Regions from separate parts of the Homo sapiens genome. Here region 1 is linked to region 2. The links are contacts of gene promoters, found by promoter capture Hi-C in blood cells and fetal thymus (Javierre and others, 2016). All regions are on one chromosome and are shown on one strand. Each heading gives the region's core, a stretch centred on a gene start or on the middle of the fragment in contact. The rest is flanking DNA. Distances are from core to core; before and after follow the strand shown.

What was found. Contacts are between HindIII fragments. The CHiCAGO score rates a contact against its expected background, and 5 or more counts as called.
Region 1: a contact is called between a fragment that was not itself captured here and the fragment with the promoter of ZNF426 in region 2, in 1 of 17 cell types (erythroblasts). The highest score is 5.4, in erythroblasts.

The regions. Positions count from the first base shown.
Region 1 is chr19:9,149,911-9,156,396 of GRCh38, reverse strand. ZNF317 (zinc finger protein 317) reads right to left here. Exons shown (of 7, transcript NM_020933.5): 2 at 356-472. The coding sequence starts at 380. Among named protein-coding and RNA genes, the nearest start is that of ZNF317, 13 kb to the right of the region's middle. The HindIII fragment of the contact is 1,338 bases long and covers 3,970-5,307 here.
Region 2 is chr19:9,537,006-9,543,488 of GRCh38, reverse strand. It overlaps ZNF426 (zinc finger protein 426), which reads left to right and starts at 4,844. Exons shown (of 8, transcript NM_024106.3): 1 at 4,844-4,914; 2 at 5,144-5,230. It overlaps ZNF426-DT (ZNF426 divergent transcript), which reads right to left and starts at 4,823. Exons shown (of 2, transcript NR_134921.1): 1 at 4,491-4,823; 2 at 3,759-4,083. RefSeq lists enhancers at 2,623-3,822, 4,477-4,546, 4,747-4,796, 4,803-5,538. The HindIII fragment of the contact is 12,585 bases long and covers 2,480-6,483 here.

The sequences.
Region 1 (6,486 bases), core at 3,389-5,888, 390 kb after region 2:
TACTCATAAGAAGTGACATAGTTCCAACCTAGGAGTGAAGAAATGCAAGTTCTGAGAGCTAGAGTTGTGACCTTGCTGAAAGTGATCAAAATAATAAATGAGATAACTCAGGGTTACCCATTACCTGCACCCTCTTCATGCATGAATGATAAGGACACTGGCCTGCTCCCAGACCCACCAAGACCCTCAGCAGACACAGTCACTGGGGTGGCTGCTGGGGCTCTGTTCCCACCCCTTTTCCACTTGCCCATCCTCTCCCAGCAGCCCTCTATGGTGTACGTATCTTTCACCCCATCAAGTGGCAGGGGCCACTTGCACTCACTTTCTCAGGGCACGCACTGACCCAAGAACTTACCAAATGTGGGGGACAGAGCTGCCATCCTCAGAGAATGGCAGTCAGTTTGCCTGAGCAGGGCACCAGGACAACCAGAAAGCTACTCTCTTGCTCTCACGTGACTCTCCAAGCTGGCATCTGTAGCAAATGAAAGAACATCGGGAGTAGTGAAAGGCTATCTGTCTCTCCTGCTCACCAAAGAAAACTCTGAGTTTTGTTTTTTGGCATTTCCTCTTTTGAGCAGCAAGATCTGCCTGATCCTGGACTTTTATCTTACTTAGGTAAACTCTCTCAGCAATGTGGTGATGTGGTGGGGGGACAGCCCCTGATCTGCTATAAGTGGGTTCAGAATTACTCTTCCTAAGTGATTTTCCACCAAGTACAACTCTGTTAAACCCCCTCACTCATTAAACACTCTGGTCCTAGACTTCTGCTCTTCCTTCACCTTCGAGGCCTGCGATCATTTAGGATGGCTCTATCCATGAAGATGGTCCACCCAGGATCAACCATGAGTTCCAAACTCCAATGCCCTTTGCACCCACACTCCACACCAACATATACACCCTTGGGCCATGGCCTGGACTGCATCATCACTAGAATCAGCCTCACCTCACAGGCAATGATTTGGAAATCTGCTCTCTGGGCAAAGTCTCCTGTGCAACCTTCTCACATCAACTCTCACTTTAGAGATTCGCGGCCACCTATGCTTCTGCCACCTCCTCCACTCACTGAATTTGAATTTAAACATCTTTTGAGATGAATCAGAAACTTAAAAATTCATAGAGAACAGCTGCAGTGAGCTACCATCATGCACTCCAGCCTGGGCAATAGAGTAAGATTCTGTCTCTAAAAACAAAAAAAGAAAAAGAAAAAAGGAAAATGAACAGTGAACCACGGATTGGGAAAAAAATATCTGCAATGCATACACCTGAAAAAGAATTCGTATTCAGATTAAAGAACTCCTAGATAGGAGTGCAAAAGGCTTATTGGAAAAAATAAAAAGAACTCCTTCAAAACAGAAAGAAAGAAAGAAAATCAACCCAACAAAAAGGGTAAAAGACTTTAATTAATAAACAGACATTTCACAAAACCAGTAAGAATCACATCGAATGGTGTTGAATATCATAGTCATTAGAGAAATGCAAATTAAAACTAGAACAGCCAAAATAAAAAAGACTACCAATACTAAATGCTGCTGAGTTTGGGGCACACTGGCACCTCTCATATCCTGATGGTAGGAGTGTGAAATAGTTCAACTACTTTGGAAAACACTTTGGCAGTTTTTAACAAGCACACTGACTATCTGATCCAACAATTCTGCTCCTAGATATTTATATAAGAGAAACTGTAAACAATTTATATCCACAAAGACTCGTACAAAAATGTCTGTAGTAGTCTGATTCCTAATAGCCAAATACTGTAAACAATCTAAACATCTATCAACCAGAGAATGGATATACAAATTGCAATGTTTACAGAATGGAATACTACTCAGCAATAAAAAGAAACTATGCAGACACACTACATGGAGAAATCCCTACGATGCTGGCCAAAAGAAACTGGACACACAAGAAACGCTCTGATTCCAACAATATAATGTCCATGAATAGGCAAAACGTAATTAAGTTGATAGAATTGAAAAAAAAAAGGGGGTTTCTTCAATGGAGGATAAGACAGGGATAGACTGAAAGAAGCAAAGGGAACTTTCTAGGATGATAGAAACTTACCTATTTTCAGATGTACAGTGTACACAATTGTCAAAAATTCAAACTGATCACCTAAGTAAGACCTATGCATTTTCTTGAACATATATTAAACCCTGCTTAAAAGAAAGAAAAAAAATGAGGCTTTCTTACCTTCTTGCTTCTAGTTATTTAAACAGTCTTCTCACAACTGATCTATGACCTCCTCCTTTCCTTCTATGACAAAGAGATGTCTGCCCTCCCTTCTCAAGGCAATCCTTTCAAATCTGCTCCAGGCCCATCCCCGTCTCTGGACCCTCGCACTACCTGGCTCTCCTTTACTTTCAGCCTCATTTCTCGCCCTGCTAGACAATTTCCTATGCATGGACACATGCTCAGGTCTATCCCATCTTGAAACCAATGCCTGCCCTGGCTCCCCTTAGTGCCCCCTTCCGAGCAAAAACTTAGGAGCAGTCTACATTCACCATCTCCCAATTCAGTACACCCAGCATCCACTACCATCATCCCCATCCTCACAGAAAATACAATTTACTCCCGTGTCAGTGAATCCAGTAAATGCACTTCAGTCTTAGAGTCTCACGAAAATGTGGTGTCTATTTTCTTTGAGAATCATTCTCTATTCTCGGCTCCTCTACAACTGTCTCCTGGTTCTTTCCCTGCTTCTCTGGATCATCTGGACCATCCAGAGGTCCTCTTTCACCACTAAAGGCTGATTCTGCTCAAGAGCCATTCTTTACCCATTCCTTCGCATGCCTCATGCTTTGCCCAGGTAATCACATCCACTCATTTAACCTGAATCCCCATCTCTAACACTTAGGTTCCAGTAGGAACTCGAGATCTTATTCCCTTTGCCTAGGAAAAGCCACCAGTAAGACATCTCATACAAAAACCAGTTCCAGCCAGGTGCAGTGGCTCCCACCTGTAATCCCAGCACTTTGGGAGACCAAGGTGGGTGGATCACCTGAGGTCGAGAGTTCGAGACCAGCCTGACCAACATGGAGAAACCCCGTCTCTACTAAAAATACAAAGAATTAGCTGGGCATGGTGGTGCATGCCTGTAATCCCAGCTACTCGGGAGGCTGAGGCAGGAGAATCGCTTGAACCCGGGAGGCGGAGGTTGAGGTAAGCTGAGATCGTGCCATCACACTCTAGCCTGGGTGAGAGAGCGAGACTCAGTCTCAAACAAACAAACAAACAAACAAACAAACAAAAACAACTACCTTGACACACTAAACCTAGGGAAAGCAAAAGTGAAGAAATAAAGATTAAAGCAGAGACAAATGAAATAGAGAATAGGAGAATTAATGAAAACAAAAGTTGGTTCTTTCAAAAAGATCAACAAAGGTGACAAAACTACAGCTAGAATTACTAACAAAAAAAGATGCAAGTAACTAAAATCATCAGTGGAAGTGGGACATTACTACCGACCTTACGGAAATTCAAAGGGCTGTAAGAGAATGCCATGAACAATTATGCACCAACACATTAGATCATCTACACTAGCAGTCCCCACCCAATTTGGCATCAGAGACTGGTGTCATGGAAGACAATTTTTCCATGGATGGTGAGGTGAGGGGGGATGGTTTTGGGATGACTTGAGTGCATTACATTTATTGTGCACTTTATTTCTATTATTATTACATTGTAATATATGGTAAAATAATTATACAACTCACCATAATATAGAATTAGTGGAAGCCCTGAGAGTGTTTTCCTGAAACTAGATGGTCCCATCTGGAGGTGATGGGAGACACTGACAGATCATCAGGCATTAGATTTTCATAAGGAGTGTGCAATCTAGATCCCTTGCATGTGCAGTGCACAATAGGGTCTGCGCCCCTATGAGAATCTAATGCTGCTGATGATCTGACAGGAGGTGGAGTTCAGGGGTAATGTGAGTGATGGGGAGCCGCTGTAAATACAGATGAAGCTTCACTCACTTGCCCTCCGCTCACCTCCTGCGGCAGGGCCTTGTTCCTAAAAGGCCAGGGACCGGTACCTGTCTGTGGCCCAGGGCTTGGGGATCAATGCTCTAGATGTATCAAATTCCTTGAAACATACCCAAACAGGCTCTAGAAGAAAAAGAAAATTGAGAGACCTATAACAAGAGACTGAGGCAGTCATCAAAAGCCATTAAATAAAAAGTCCAGGACCAGCTGGGCACGGTGGCTCACGCCTGTAATCCCAGCATTTTGGGAGGCCGAGGCGGGTGGATCAGGAGGTCAGGAGATCGAGACCATCCTGGCTAACACGGTAAAACCCCATCTCTACTAAAAATACAAAAAATTAGCCAGGCGTGGTGATGAGTGCCTGTAGTCCCAGCTACTCGGGAGGCTGAGGCAGGAGAATGGTGTGAACCTGGGAGGCGGAGCTTGCAGTGAGCCGAGATTGCGCCACTGCACTCCAGCCTGGGCGACAGAGCAAGACTCCGTCTCAAAAAAAAAAAAAAAAAGTCCAGGACCAAGGGGCTTCACTGGTGAACCCTACCAAACATTTAGAATTAACATCAAGGACATTATCAAGAAAGTGAATGAGACACAGAATGGTGGAAAATATTTGCAAATCATGTATGTGATAGGGATTTAATATCATTATAAACTCAACAACAAAGACAACCCAGTAAAAAAGTGGGCAGGAGACTTGAACAGAACAGACATTTCTCCAAATTTACAGAAATGAACTGTAAACACATGAAAAGATGATTAACAACATCAGTCATTAAGGAAATAACATCAAAACCACAATACATTGGTGAGGTATGGTGGCCCACACCTCGGGAGGGGATTTAATTTGCTTTGTATGAACATGCCTCCTCTCTCTGGCTTCCACCGCGACTCTCATGACAGCACTGATGTAAGAACCGTGACGCTGCTACTTTAACATCTGACTCAGATCAATAATCAATATTACCACTTTTAAACATTACCAGGGTTATAACAATCTTTTTCAACATCAATTAGTATTTCTGCTATTGGAATTGTTTTAGATATTCAGAAACATTTCAAAACAATAATATAGGAAGTGTGTTTTAACGTATAAACTCTGCCTTGGGGATTCATTATTCAACACCAAATTTGATCTTGGGCCAACTCAAAGATGCATGACGCTTTCATTCTTTTTACAAAGCCCTTTTCTAGTCATTGTGCCTTTGGGTTCTGACATTAAGTCACTGCTGAGGAAGGGGAGAGAGGGTGACAGAGGCTCAGTTCCTGAGGCACAGTATCTCCATCCTCACCTACCATTCATTCATTCATGCTCAACTAACAAGCTTCTGCAGGTCCCATTCCACCTTTCCCCACCAACATTAATGCCAATTCTACAAATAACGACATGTGTAGTGTTTACAAGGTATGAGACATTCTCCTGAGTCTTTCCAGGGCCACTCCTATTTAATCCTCACAACCTCCCGGAATTATTCTCAAGTACCCAGAGAATAAGGCACCAAGGGTCCGAGACACTTGGTCAAGGTCATAGGTGGAAGTTGTGAGCCCAGCTGACGTGACTGCGGAGCCACATCTTGTTGCCTCTCAAAGTGACCTATGTCACCTGTACTGTCCCCTATGTGGGAACTCCTTGACACTACATCTTGACCCTTCCTTTGCCTGACCTCCTGACACATCATCTTGCTCACTATGAATCTATCTCCCTCTTCCTGGGAATGCCACTGCTCTTGCAGCCATAGCCCACTCATCCCAGTCTGTGCTCACATCTCTGGTTGCTCTTTTGAAGACTCTGGCTTGAGATCCCTCCTCTGCCCAGCCCCTAAAGGTCAGGGTTCCCCTGGGCCCCTCTCCCCCATCTCCCACAGGTCCACATTGTGAAACACCCCCACCATTTGGAGGTGCTGACACCCAGGTTCTGATTGCACTTCTGTGAAGGTCTCCCTGTCCCTGAGGCCTCAGTAGACTCCCCTTTAATGCAAGCCCACAGTTCTGCTCATTCCCCTCCCAAGAGTCAGTTCATCAAAACTCAGTTTTCTCATCTGGAAACTGAAGACTTTAACACTGGGTTATGTATGGAACTCTATAGGCTCAGTAAACAAACATTCACTCTAAAATGCCATTATCATTAAAATAAAATGACCACTGACGATTTCACAATTACTTAACAGAATTGTTCATTTATAGTGGGTGCCACTCTCCGCTCCCTGGCACCTGCCCCACCCAGAATGACTCAGAGTGAGTGGCAGCCAGGTGGCTACTTAGTATCCCTACTGCAACAGCCAACAGGATCCCACATTAAACACCTACAACTGTGCTGCCACCAGCCTCCCCACGTTGATGGCAGCTCCAGCCTCCCAGGGGCTCAAGTCAAAAGCCTTGCTCGTCATCACCTTCAACTCTCCTCTTTCTTTTCCATAAACCACACCTGCATCACCAGCAAATCCTGCCAGCCTTAACTTTAAAACTTAATACAAAAATCTGGTTGCTTCTCACCACCTACACTGCT
Region 2 (6,483 bases), core at 3,595-6,094:
TTGAGATCCAGAACAGAATAATGGGTTGAGGAGGGAGGTATTGAGGATAGGAGAGTATATGGGTTTGGCACCATGGGGTGGATAGGCAAGACAATTTGGTTGATAAGGCAAAGATCCTGGACCAGCCTGTAAGACTTGTCCAGTTTTTGGACAGGTAGGATAGGAGAGTTGTAAGGAGAGTTTGTAGGCTTTAAAAGGTCATGCTGTAACAGGGAAGTGATAACAGGCTTTAGTCCCCTCAAATCCTGTTGTGGGATGGGATATTGGCATTGAGCAGGGTAAGGGTGATTAGGTTTTACCCCCAAGGGATGATAAGGGGTGCATGATCAGTTGCTAAGGAGGGAGTAGAGGTATCCCATACTTGTGGATTAAGGTAGTGAGACACAAGGGGAGGAGGCAAAGGAGGCTTTGAACTGGGGAAAAGGGTGGCAATGAGGTGTGGCTATAGCCCAGGAATAGTGAGGGAAGCAGAGAATTTAGTTAAAATGTCTTGACCTAATAAGGGAGCTGGGCAGGTGGGGATAACTAAAAAGAGTGCATAAAAGAAAGTTGTTCAAGTTGGCACCAGAGTTGGGGATTTTTAAGAGGTTTAGAAGCCTGGCCATCAATACCCACGGCAGTTATGAAGGCAAGGGAAACAGGCCCTTGAAAAGAAGGTAATGTGGAGTGGGTAGCCTCTGTATTGATTAAGAAGGGGACAGACTTGCCCTCCACTGTAAGAGTTACCCAAAGCATCTGTGATAGTCCAGGAGGCTCCCGAGGTGATCGGGCAGTGTCAGTCTTCAGCTGCTAAGCCGAGAAGATCTGGGAAGGAGTCAGTCAGACAGCCTTGGGCCAGAGTTCCAGTGGCTCTGGTAGTGGCTGCCAGGTGAGTTGGACAGTCCGATTTCAAGTGGGGTCCCACAGATGGGACATGGCTTAGGAGGAATCCTGGGCTGCGGGCATTCCTTGGCCCAGTGGCCAGATTTCCAGCACTTAAAGCAAGAACCTGAGGGAGGAGGTCCTGGAGGAACACCTGGCCTCTGTGGTTTAGGCATTTTGAAGTTCTTATGTGCTGGAGATGTGGCTGGGGTTTATCTCACAGCAGAGGCAAGTAATTGCAACTCAGAAATACAACGCCACTTGGCTGCCTCTTCTCTATTATTGTACACCTTCAAGGTGAGGTTAATTAAGTCCTGTTGTGGGGGTTGAGGGTCAGAATCTAATTTTTGGAGCTTTTTCTAGTCTTGGGAGCAGATTGGGTAATAAAATGCATATTGAGAATAAAATGCATATTGAGAATAAGATGGCCTTCTGGCCTCTCTGGTTCTAGGGTGGTAAACTGTCTAAGGGTTGTTGCCAAACAGGCCATGAACTGGGCCGGGTTTTTATACTTGATGAAAAAGAGCCTAAATGCTAACTGACTTGGGAGAGGTTGGATGAAGAAAAAGGAGCATTAACCTCGACTATGCCTTCAGCTCCAGCCACTTCTCTAAGAGGATATTGTTGGGCAGGTGGGGGAGGGCTAGTCATGGAATGAAACTGTAAGCTGGACCGGGTGTGAGAAGGGGAGGTGATAGAAAGATCACAGGGTAGGGAGCAGAGGCTGAGGAAGAATTAGTGAGAGGTGACAGCGTGCTGGCAGTCCTCACAGCCCTCGCTCACTCTTGGCGCCTCCTCTGCCTGAGCTTCCACTTTGGCGGCACTTGAGGAGCCCTTCAGCCCACTGCTGCACTGTGGGAGCCCCTTTCTGGGCTGGCCAAGGCTGGAGCCAGCTCCCTCAGCTTGCAGGGAGGTGTGGAGGGAGAGGCGCGAGCGGGAACTGGGGCTGTGCATGGTGCTTGCGGGCCAGCTGGAGTTCCAGGTGGGCGTGGGCTTGGCGGCTGCACTCGAAGCAGCTGGCCGGCCCTGCTGGCCCCAGGCAATGAGGGGCTTAGCACCCAGGCCAGCAGCTGCACAGGGTGTACTGGGTCCCCTAGCAGTGCCAGCCCACTGGTGCTGCGCTTGATTTCTCGCCAGGCCTTAGCTGCCTTCCCACAGGGCAGGGCTCAAGACTGGCAGCCCGCCATGCCTGAGCCTCCCACCCCCTCCATGGGCTCCTGTGCAGCTCGAGCCTCCCTGATGAGAGCTCCCCCCTGCTCCATGGTGCCCAGTCCCATCAACCACCCAAGGGCTGAGGAGTGCGGGCACATGGCGCGGGACTGGCAGGCAGCTCCACCTGCAGCCCCAGTGCGGGATCCACTGGGTGAAGCCAGCTGGGCTCCTGAGTCTGGTGGGGATGTGGAGAACCTTTATGTCTAGCTCAGGGATTGTGGAAACACCAATTGGCACTCTGTATCTAGCTCAAGGTTTGTAAACACACCAATCAGCACCCTGTCAAAACAGACCACTCGGCTCTACCAATCAGCAGGATGTGGGTAGGGCCAGATAAGAGAATAAAAGCAGGCTACTGAGCCAGCAGTGGCAACCCCCTTGGGTCCCCTTCCACGCTGTGGAAGCTTTGTTCTTTTGCTCTTTGCAATAAATCTTGCTACTGCTTACTCTTTGGGTCCATGCTGCCTTTAAGAGCTGTAACACTCACCGCAAAGGTCTGTAGCTTCACTCCTGAGCCAGCGAGACCACAAACCCACCAGAAGGAAGAAACTCTGAACACATCCGAACATCAGAAGGAACAAACTCCAGACACGCCGCCTTTAAGAACTGTAACACTCACCGCGAGGGTCCACGGCTTCATTCTTGAAGTCAGTGAGACCAAGAACCCACCAATTCTGGATACGTTAGGACCTGGCTCAGCTTGGCGAGGAGCAGCCTGAGGGGGAGGGGAGAGGTCAGATGGGTCCATAGAAAAGGAGGATTCAAAGGACAAGAAAGAAACAAGAAAGATTTGGGATGAGTCACATTGGGAGCAAAGACTAGGGACGGACCAATGTGTAAAGAATGCCTGGATGTCAGGCATCTCAGACCATTTGCCCATTTTATGACAAAAATTATCTAGATCTTGTAGGATGGAGAAATCAAAAGTGCCATTTTCTGGCCATTTAGAACCATTGTCAAGTTTGTACTGGGGCCAAGTGGTGTTGCAGAAGAAAATAAGGTATTTAGGTTTTAGGTCAGGTGTGAGTTGAATAGGTTTTAAGTTCTTGAGAACACAGGCTAAGGGAGAAGAACAGGGAATGGAGGGCAGAAGATTGCCCATAGTGAAGGAGGTAAGTTTAAAGAGAAAGGTAGAGACATGGAGAAGGCAGTGGAGTGGGGTGGGGGTGAGCAGCCCTGGGCTGTAATGTGGGTAAGCAGCCAAAGCAGGCAGCCCTGCAATTGACTTGCCACCAAGGGAATGTGGGTGAATGATCAAGGCAGGCATCCCCACAGTGATCAGACACCAATGGAATGTAGGTGAATAATCAGGCAGGTATCCCTACAGTGATTAGCCACCAAGGAAAGACTGTCTTCCTGAGTCCGTGACTGGAGCTGGAGTTTTGGGTCCACAGATAAAATGTGTCTCCTTTGTCTCTACTGGAGAGGAAAAAGAACTGGAATTGGAAGGACAGAGAGATGGAAGGGTAGTGAGAGAGGCTGGAGAAGAGAGTGAAGAGACTGCTTACCCAATTTGAAATTGGTGAGATGTTCCTTGGGCTAGTCTGAGGACCCGAGGTAGTAGGTGGAGCTCCTCACGGAGTGAGGGTGAGGACGGGGCCAGTCTCCCAAGGGAGTCCCCCTGTCCCAGGTTTCGGAACCAAATGTTACACACATCCATGTGAAGAGACCACCAATAGGCTTTGTGTTAGCAACAAGGCTGTTTATTCACTTGGGTGCAAGTGGGCTGAGTCCGAGAAAGGGGTCAGCAAAGGGAGATAGGGGTGGGGCAGTTTTATAGGATTTGGGTAGGTAGTGGAAAGTTAAAGGTGGTTATCTTTTGCTGGCAGGGCCGGGGGTCACAAGGTGCTCGGTGGGGAACTCCTGAGACTCGTCCAGAAGAAGAATGTCACAAGGTCAAGAGATCAGTTGGGGTGGGGCAGCAACAAATCACAATGGTGGAACGTCATCAGTTAAGGCAGGAACTGGCTGTTTCACTTCTTTTGTGGTTCTTCAGTTGCTCCAGGCCATCTGGATGTATACGTGCAGGTGACAGGGTTTATGATGATTTAACTTGGGCTCAGAGGCCTGACAAGTAGTTCAAGACCAGCCTGGCCAGCATGGCAAAACCCTGCCTCTACTAAAAATACAAAAATTAGCAGGGTGTGGCAGCATGCACCTGTAATTCCAGCTACTTGGGAGGATGAGGCAGGAGAATCGCTTGAACCTGGGAGGTGGAGGTTGCAGTGAGCTGAGATGGCTCCACTGAACTCCAGCCTTGGTGACAGAGTGAGATTTTGTCTCAAAAAAAAAGAAAAGATGTTTTAAAGCAAGGCAGAAAACCTAGAAATTATTTTTAAAAACAATTCTTTTAGCTGCATAGAAAATGTTTTTTACATCAAATGTTGAAATAGTAACAGAGCAAAAGACGTAGTTACCTATTTTCTACATGCATAACACATTGGCTCCTTCCCCTATGGCCGCCCTGCTGCGGCCTCGCCCACAGGCCTGGCTATAACTTCAACCTTTTCCTCTGGGCCTGGACCCACATTCCTCCCCGCCCCCTGCCCGTAGCCCTGCCCACAGGCTTGGCTCTAACCTCGACCTTGCCTTCTGGACCCATTTCTGCCTGCAGCCCCCACGCTGAGCCCACCCCAAGGTCCTCCGCAGCCAAGCAGATGGAAAGTAGAATTTTTCTGCCTCGAGGAGGTATTACACGGCAGAAACCCTAGTCCCGAAACCCCGCCTGGCCCGAGGCGGAGAGCGTAAATGACGTCAGCGGTGCGCCGTTCCTTTTGTGACGCCGGCTGTGAGCGCCTGAGAGTCTTTTTGCCTTTCAGAGTTAAGGCCTCACTGGCCTGGGTGAGTTCCGAGGAGATGAACTGGTTTTGGGGTGAAGGACGGGTTTGGCCCGGACGTTAGAGAGGCCTGGCCCGCTCTGCTCGTGTCTGCTGGGCCCGCTAGCGTCCGCTCGGACCGTCGCTCCTCGGGAGGAGTCGGGTTTATAGTTACGGTGTCCGCAGGGTGTTTTCATCTGTGCGCCCCTCTCCAAAGGCCTCCAAAGCAGCGTTTGTGAATTTTTTTCCGGCAGGAAAATAATTGCTGCCTTTTGCATCCGCGTTGGCTCCGTCCCCAGGATCTTCCCGGTTCAGGGACCTGGCGATTTCTGAGTGTTCCGGTGAGCACTGGGTGAAAGTTGGTTCTAGGGGGCCTTTTCTGTCTTCTCTTATGCAAACGAATGTTTCATCTGTAAGTTTGGTTTCGTCTTATTGTGTTGTGTTTTATTTTTGACCATTACTTTCATGGCGAAAGATAAAGATGCTTTTTAGGTTTATAGGGTGTGCGTATTTGTGTATGTGAATATAAACGTTTGTAGACCGCAAGTCTTTCTGCTAAAGAATACTAAGAATAATAATTCATTATCTTCGAATGGAGTTCCTAGGCCTGTACATCCCAAGAGAGCTTCTTAATCAGACCTCCAGAGGGAAAGGATGAAGGCTTTATTATTCTAGTATCACAATAATCAAATTTACAATGAACAGGATGGTTGGATTAAGGAGTTTGAAACCAGCCTGGCTAAGATGGTGAAACCCCGTCTCTACTAAAAATAGAAAAAAAATTAGCCGAGCGTGGTGGTGGGGTCTTGGAATCTCAGCTATTTGGGAGACTAAGGCAGGAGAATCACTTGAACCCAGGAGGCGGACGTTGCAGTGAGCTGAGATCGTGCCACTGCACTCCAGCCTGGGAGACAGAGTGAGCCTCCGTCTCAAAAGAAAAAAAAGAGAAACGAAGGATGTGTGCATTTTAAGCTACATTGATTGTATATCAATGAAAAAAAAAAAAAGCTGGCTGGGTACAGTGGCTCACACCTGTGATCCCAGCACTTTGAGAGGCTGAGGCAGGAAGATCTCTTGAGCCCAGGAGTTTAAGACCAGCCTGGGCAACATAGCAAGACTCCATCTCTCCAAAAAAAAAAAAAAAAAAAGAGTTAAATATTCTATACAGATGCCACCAAACTGAATATTTGTGGGCCTAGTCAGCCCTAGGACCCCTAGTTTGAGACCCCTGGGAGTAGGTGTGATCTATACCAGGAGTCCAGAACTGTGGTTTTTGTGACTTTAGGGTTTTAGTCTTATTGGTAGAAGGAGGCCTATAGAGTTTTTGTGAATTTGGTTCATGGATAATGAACTGCGGAACTTTCACTGTTTATCATCATTTGACTCCCATTCTGTAGGTGATTGTTTGAGCCACTGTTTCATGTTTGATTAATTAATGATTGTCATTATTATTATTATTATTTTTTTTTTGAGACAGAGTCTTGCTCTGTCACCTAGGCTGGAGTGCAGTGGTGTGATCTCAGCTCCCTGCAACTTCCATTTCCCAGGATCAAGCGATTCTCCTGCCTCAGCCTCCTGAGTAGCTGGGATTACA